Regions from separate parts of the Homo sapiens genome. Here region 1 is linked to region 2. Evidence: promoter capture Hi-C in 16 types of primary human blood cells and fetal thymus (Javierre and others, 2016). All regions are on one chromosome and are shown on one strand. The core of a region is centred on a gene start or on the middle of the fragment in contact, and the rest is flanking DNA. Distances in the headings are between cores, read along the strand shown.

The links. Contacts are between HindIII fragments. The CHiCAGO score rates a contact against its expected background, and 5 or more counts as called.
Region 1: a contact is called between the fragment with the promoter of RPS19 here and the fragment with the promoter of CNFN in region 2, in 3 of 17 cell types (naive B cells, total B cells and naive CD4 T cells). The highest score is 8.9, in naive B cells.

What each region holds. Positions count from the first base shown.
Region 1 is chr19:41,858,575-41,862,211 of GRCh38, forward strand. It overlaps RPS19 (ribosomal protein S19), which reads left to right and starts at 1,681. Exons shown (of 6, transcript NM_001022.4): 1 at 1,681-1,715; 2 at 2,201-2,271; 3 at 2,538-2,638. The coding sequence starts at 2,201. RefSeq lists an enhancer at 1,384-2,139 and silencers at 1,693-1,822, 1,883-2,002. The HindIII fragment of the contact is 18,374 bases long and covers 1-3,637 here.
Region 2 is chr19:42,388,250-42,392,076 of GRCh38, forward strand. CNFN (cornifelin) reads right to left here and starts at 2,048. Exons shown (of 4, transcript NM_032488.4): 1 at 1,991-2,048; 2 at 677-790. The coding sequence starts at 788. The HindIII fragment of the contact is 9,287 bases long and covers 1-3,827 here.

The DNA.
Region 1 (3,637 bases), core at 431-2,930, 530 kb before region 2:
AGGTCAGGAGTTCGAGACCAGCCTGGCCAACGTGGTGAAAACCCGTCTCTATAAAAATACAAAAATTAGCCAGGTGTGGTGGCAGGCACCTGTAATCCCAGCTACCTGGGAGCCTGAGGCCGGAGAATCGCTTGAACCCGGGAGGTGGAGGTTGCAGTGAACCAAGATCACATCATTGCACTCCCGCCTGGGCGACAAAGCGAGACTCCAACTCAAAAAAAATTAAATAATAATTACTTAAATTATAAAAAGTGAATATAAATTACCCAAGTACCTGGAGATTTCCAGTTAGACATGCATATATTACCCACTTTGAATACATATGGAAATATGTATGTGTTGGTTCTGGAAAAACAATTGAGATAATGAAAATATTTTCTCAAGTTTTAGAAACAGTATGAGATAGGTTTCAACAACATTCTACATGAATGTAAAACCTTGATTTAAATATATGATCTTATGCTAGAAGCATGGTTGGTTTTAATTTTTCTAACAGATACGAGTCTTGGCTTATTAATAATTAACACATTTTGCAGCCACAGTATCAGTGTGGGGTAAAATTCTAATATTTGCTCTTATGTTTTAAATTCTCAGTCTTTCCAACATAAGAAAATAGCTACACACATTTCAGTGTTTCCTTTTTGCAACAAGTTAACATAATTTTATTGGACCACGTTATTTAGTTGTTGGGCCTTGTAAGGATTAAATGAGATCATGCATGTAACACTACAGTAACAGCCACATGATAAATGTCCAAATAATATTTACCTGTGCCTGGCACAGAGCAGGCACTCAAAAAATATTTTTTAGAGCATGTGACGCGCCATGAACCAGAGGAGCCACTTTAAATGGACAAACGGGGATCTCATTTTTTTTTTTTTTTTTTAATGGTGAGACAAGCCCTGAGAAGGCAAATGGACTGCCTAAAGCTACACAGGTCAGCGGGGCAGGTAAATCTAAATTGGCAAAGTAAGGGCTGAGCGAACAGACTCCGACACTAGAAGGCAGAGCTGAACTAACTTCTGCTAAGGTCCCGCCTCTGCCGCTTTGTCCCGCCCTTATCTTCTCCCCTCCTCCAGCGCCTCATTCCCTTTTCGCTCGCCCCGGCCGTGCTGAAGCAACTTCCGCCCTGAGAAGGGTGGGGCTTCCGTCTCCCGCTCTCGCGACTCCTGGCGGTGAAGGACGGAAGATGATAGCCACATTTCTTCCTCGCCCTTCCCCTAGGTTCCCTGTCACAGTTCCGCCCTTACTACTCCCACTTCCGGCCAGGGAACAGCCACTTCCACCCGGAAAAGGGGTTGTTCCGCCGTGGGGCGCCAGCTGTGGCCCACCCATCCTGCCCCGTACTTTCGCCATCATAGTATTCTCCACCACTGTTCCTTCCAGCCACGAACGACGCAAACGAAGCCAAGTTCCCCCAGCTCCGAACAGGAGCTCTCTATCCTCTCTCTATTACACTCCGGGAGAAGGAAACGCGGGAGGAAACCCAGGCCTCCACGCGCGACCCCTTGGCCCTCCCCTTTACCTCTCCACCCCTCACTAGACACCCTCCCCTCTAGGCGGGGACGAACTTTCGCCCTGAGAGAGGCGGAGCCTCAGCGTCTACCCTCGCTCTCGCGAGCTTTCGGAACTCTCGCGAGACCCTACGCCCGACTTGTGCGCCCGGGAAACCCCGTCGTTCCCTTTCCCCTGGCTGGCAGCGCGGAGGCCGCACGGTAAGCGGGGGCTCCGAGCTGGACCGGGCGCGAGGCGGCAGGGCCGGACGCCGAAGCCTCAGAGCGCGTGCCTGAGGGCCCCGAGGCGCCCGGCGCGGGCCCGTCCCGCCCCCTAGAGCCGCGGCCACGTGCGAGCGGCAGGCCCGGACATGCCCGGTCAGCGCCGTCCGGGAACCGAGCGTGGGCCCCGGGGGGCAGCGGCGGGGTGCGTGGGGCGTCCGGAGTCCCGGGGCTGGGGAGTGGGGTCGCGCAGGATCCTCACACGCAGGGGCCGGGCTCTGTTAGTGCGATCCAGAGAGGCCGTGGGCGTCGGTGAGCTCCTTCAGACCCGCAGGAGCCGGAGCCCGGCGTTGAAGGGGCCGTGGGAAGTAACGGGGGGTACCACGGTTTAGGATGCGCTGGAGCGAAAGGATTGGGGTGGGGTCCGTGCTCTTGGCAGTCGTCTCTGCCAGGCCTGTGTTCACATGCTTGACTTTCTCCCTCAGATGCCTGGAGTTACTGTAAAAGACGTGAACCAGCAGGAGTTCGTCAGAGCTCTGGCAGCCTTCCTCAAAAAGTGAGTTTGGGGACTGAGGTTCAAAACGGGTGGAGGCTGTCGCCTTGGCCTGCCCATCTGAGCCCCAGTGTTTGCCGGTCCCTGGCAGGCGAGGCTTGTTTGGGGCCTCCGTGGCTCCTTTCAGCGTGAGGCCTGGCTTGTGTTCCGGTTCCAGCCTCTCTTTGTACTCTGGGCACAGCATAGTTGTGTTGAGGGGAGGGCATTTGGGATATGGGGTAGTTTGTGGAGATGACTGAATCGTGCTTTTCCCACTGTTTTGGTCTTAGGTCCGGGAAGCTGAAAGTCCCCGAATGGGTGGATACCGTCAAGCTGGCCAAGCACAAAGAGCTTGCTCCCTACGATGAGAACTGGTTCTACACGCGAGCTGGTGAGGAACTTAGGTCTTTGGCTGGAGAGTGGGGAGCTGGGTGACCCCTGGCACAAACCATACTTCCCTGTCTCCTCTGAGCTCTTTCCCGCCCCAAGAGGGAGAGAAACCCTTGGTTGTGTCACCACTTGCTTTGTGTGATGTGACATTCGATAACTTGGTACTCCAAGTTTTTATGACATTCTAAGAGCTTTGTGAGAGGAGGACCTGTGGCTTTGAGCCTCAGGGGAAACCAGAGACAGATGAATGTTCATATTTTGCTTACAGGTGGTTTAATCCTTTCTATATACACGGAGGCAGACTCCCTGGGTTTGGATCCATCTTTTACATCTGGCTGTGTGTCCTCTGGCAAGTTGGTTAACCTGCCTGTGCACTCTCTCATCCCCAAAATGGGACTAATTATTGTACCAGTACTAGAGTATTGCAAGGATTGAATGAATTTAAAGCAGAGTGTTTAGAACGTGTCTGTTGCACAGTAGTTATTCAGGAAAAAGCCAGTTGTCTTTACTATTGCTCAGATCATCAAGTTAGCCTTCTCCATATCTCTAACAGGCTGTTTCTAACTAAATGGTTGGAGATCTGGCCAGGTCAGTCCCTGCTTTAAATCTTGACTTCTGATCTTATGGACACCCTGCAACCTCGTGCCAGCCCCGTCTCTTTTCAATCTTCCAATAATAATTTATGTACAGTCCCTGACTAGTGTTAGTTCTCACGTGTCTTAATATTTCAGTACTCACTAAATCTTCACTTTCAGGAAGATGTAACAGGGTGGGCGGTGGCAGTGCCGTGTTATGTCAAGGTGACAGCCTTAGCACCGACCTTCACTAAGGGGCCTCGGCCTCTCCAATCTTAAACCTTCTCTCTCTGTGAAGTGGGGACTCCATCCTGACCACAACTTGTCTCCAGATAAGAAGTAGGTGGGAAGCAGGGTTTGGAAATCGGCAAAACTCCTCCATGACCCGGAAAAGAGTTGGCCTTGGTACAGGTTGCTTGGCCCTT
Region 2 (3,827 bases), core at 798-3,297:
GTGGCGTGATCTCGGCTCACTGCAACCTCTGTCTCCCGGGTTCAATCAATTCTCTTTCTCAGCCTCCCGAGTAGCTGAGTTTACAGGCGCCCGCCACCACGCCCGGTTTTTTTTTTTGTATTTTTAGTAGAGACGGGGTTTCACCATCTTGGCCAGACTGGTCTTGAACTCCTGACCTTGTGGTCCACCTGCCATGGCCTCCCAAAGTCCTGGGATTACAGGCGTGAGCCACTGCGCCCGACCTATTTTTTATTTTTATTTTTGTAGAGATGGGGATCTCATTATGTTGCCCAGGCTGATCTTGAATTCCTGGCCTCAAGGGATTGTCATGCCTTGGCCTCCCAAAGTGTTGGGATTACAGGCATGAGCCACTGCACTGGGCCAGGAGCTAGGGTTTGAAGAGGGAGTTGGGGGTCACAGTGAGGAAAGCTGAGCATGCAAAGGGGAGGTTGAGGGCCTGATAAGTTGAGTGTGGGAAGGCATGAGGTAGTATCCTAAGGAGTGTTGGGGGTCTGAGGAAAGGGTGACTGTTAGAGTGGGAATTCCAAGTCCAGGGAAGGGAGGTGGGAGTGGGGTTAGCAAGCGGTGGGAGGAGGTTGGAGGTGAGCTTCCCTCTCCTGATTCCCCCCAAACCCATCTTCCACCAGGCCTGGAGAGGGAGCAGGCAGGCACTCACAGACAGGCATGTCGTTGCAGCAGTCCGTGAGACCTGTGTGCCAGTCACTGAGCTGGGTCTGGTAGCAGCTGGTGGTGGCGCACTGGGGCTGACTGGTCACAGGGTAGGACATAGCTGCAGAGGTGGGAGGGTAGGGGTCAGCTGGCAGCCTCGCAGCATCTCCTGGGCCCCGCACTTCGGCCACCCTTCCCTGTGCCGGGCAGTCTGGGCGGGGCCGCCAGGCCGCCCACTGAAGGGACACCACTGTGCCTCCCCCTTCCCTTCTGCTACATCTGGGCACCGGCAACCCCAGTCTGTCCCTGTTGCTGCTGGCTCCTGCACGTCTGGTTAGGCTGGGGGTGGGGGTCTCCTGCACATCTGAGGAAGGGTGGGGACCACATCTGGGTGGGGCCTGGCGGTGCCGCCTCCTCCTCCACGTCTGGGCCTGGGTTCTGGGTTGCAGCATTTCTGGGGCCTCTGGGGTGGAAGCAGGCGCCGTCTGTCTTCGAAGCAAGGGTGCCCAGGGGAGGGAGGCGGCCAGGTTCCAGTACTGAGAGGGTTGCTGGTCCACCCAGCGGTCCCACCTTTGCCTTTCACGTTGTCGTGCATCTCAAACTGCATCTTGCTGGCCCTGAGGAGGTGGCGTTGGGGACGGCAGAAGTGGCTGTGGCAACAGTGGCAGAGTCTGTCCAAGGGACGCTGGATACTGGGGAGGTGGGGGCAAGGGACTGGGGCACTGGGGGCTGGGCTCTCAGGGGGAGGGGAGCTGGGGAGAAAGAGGCCAAGTCAGCCTGTCAACCAGGAGAGACATGGAATAGGGAATGGATAGGGCGGGGGCGAGAAACTCGCCCATGTCTTTCCAACTGCCCGACAGATTGCAGAGGACCCTCCCCATACCCGAGATAGAGCTTGAGGGAGAACAAGAAATGGAGATGGACAGAGTCAGAGACAAGGGGAGAAAGATCAGAGCCAGGTGCCCGTAGAGATGTCACCAGTAATGCCCACATGTGCCCAGCACTTTGACTCCTCTGCAAGCCCATCTCACAGATGAGCACTGAGGCTCAGAGACATGAGGAGGAACGCCCCACGTCTGACGGCCCAGGCCAAGGGGGTTCATAGAGGTGATGCTGGGCCCCAAGACTTCTAAATTCAGCTCAGCACACCCCAGTTAAGAAGGACAGATTTGGGGGCATTGGGAAGGACAGAGATGTCCCGAGAGACCGACAATCAGCGATATGAAAGGAGACAGAGTGATATGAGTGGGATGAGGAGGAGGGAGAACAGAGCAGAGGCGCCCAACCTCAAAGAAGAGGGCTGCGGAGGGGATGTTCCTACCTGCAGGATCGCGATGGCAGTGATGGAGGCAGACGTGTGGAGACACGGGCACTGACTTCTCCGTCTCAGCCCAGAGCCACTTATATGGGCGGCCACGCAGCCCTGGGCGGGGCTCTGACAGAGGTGCCCAGGGAGCCAAGCCGGTCTGATCGACCCTCTCCCCACACTGGGATTTCCCGCCCTCCCTCTCCACTCCCATCCCCCCACTTCTCCTCCTGCCTCAGCTCCCAGGACCCAGGGAAAAGAAGGTGGCGGGGGGTGGGAGGTTTGGCGGGGGCGGGGGGCCACAGCCGGGTCAATGCGCAGAGACCAAAAGAGAGGGAGAGACAGAAACACAGTGTCAGAAAGGCAGGCAGGGAAGTCCCTCTAGACAGAAAGGAGAGAGAGGAGATTCAGAGAGATGGAGAGACGCAGGAAGATGTAGAGAGATGGAGAGGTGCCAAGAAACAGAGGGGCACAAAAATGTGAAAAGAAATAACAAGAAGAGGGGAGATGGGCCAGGCATGGTGGCTCTCGCCTGTAATCCCAACCCTGTAATCGCCTGAGGTGAGAGGATCGCTTGAGCCCAGGAGTTGAAGACCAGCCTGGGCAACATAGGGATACCCCATCTCTACAAAAAATACAAATAGAATTAGCCGGGCATGGTGGCATGTGCCTGTAGTCCCAGCTACTTGAGAGGCTGAGGCAGGAGGATCGCTTGAGTCCAGAAGTTTGAGGCTGCAGTGAGCCGTGTTCCCGCCACTACACTCCGGCCTCAGTGACAGAGCAAGACCCTGTCTTAAAAAAAAAAAAGGAAAGAAAAGGGGAGATGGGAGACAGAAGAGAGACGGAGATGGAAAAGTGGAGAGGCAGGTGGGGGGATCACTGAACAGGCTTAGAGGGCAGGGAAATGGGGAGAGGTGATGGGTGGGGAGAGAAAAAGGCCGGGTGGAGTGGGAGAGAGTGCTGTGTGGGACTCCCCTTTCAGGGTCTCGCTCATCTCTCTCAGTGATATCCCCACTTTCCTGGGAGAGGGGGACAGTGTCCTCCCCATTCAAGCCAGGAGACACATGGGGGGCAGTGTGTTTTGGGGAATGACTCATGTTGGAACCAAAGTAAATAAACACACCTCACCCCAGCTCCAAATTGGGAAGGGAGGAGGCTGGGAACTGAAAAGCCGCAGTTCCTGAAGGACGTGGACGTCACCTGGGACTCCTGGGTCCTAATGGAGCAAAGGAGTGGGGGCTTGGACCCCTGGGTCTGAGGGAGGAGGGGCTGGGGCCCTGGACTCCTGCGTCTCATGAGGCCAGGCTGCACATCCCTCAGTAGGGTAGGGGTCCTGGGATTCCACACTGCTGGGCTCCTGAGCAGGGAAGGAGCTGGGGGTCTGGGTGCCTGAATCGCCAAAGTTTCCCCCCAACAGGCCTGACGGGGTTGGGAGGTGACTCAGTGAGGGAAGCAGCATTAGAGCTGGGTGGGGTTCTCAGCACGGGTGTCACCCCAAAAATGTAGGAGGCACTAGAAAACTGGGGTGTCACCTGCAGAGAAGGTGGTGTCATCACCCCGCCGGGTATGGGGTGATGGCAGGTGGATCACCCTGCTAGCTGGGATCCCAGGTGTCCCCTCCCTCCCTCCCTCCCTCCAACACATTAGGACCCAAGCCTTGGTCTCCCAGCACCACCCAGATGGTTGGGTCTTCCTGTCCCCAGAACTCCCGGCAGCGCTCACTGTCTTGCCGGTGCACGTCCGTCATTGGTCCTAGAGCCTGGATGTCTGGGGGACATCTCCTCACTTGTGTCCTAACATCCCTGTCTCCTCATCTCTGAATCTTCGTCTCTCACCCTGCATCTTCACCTTT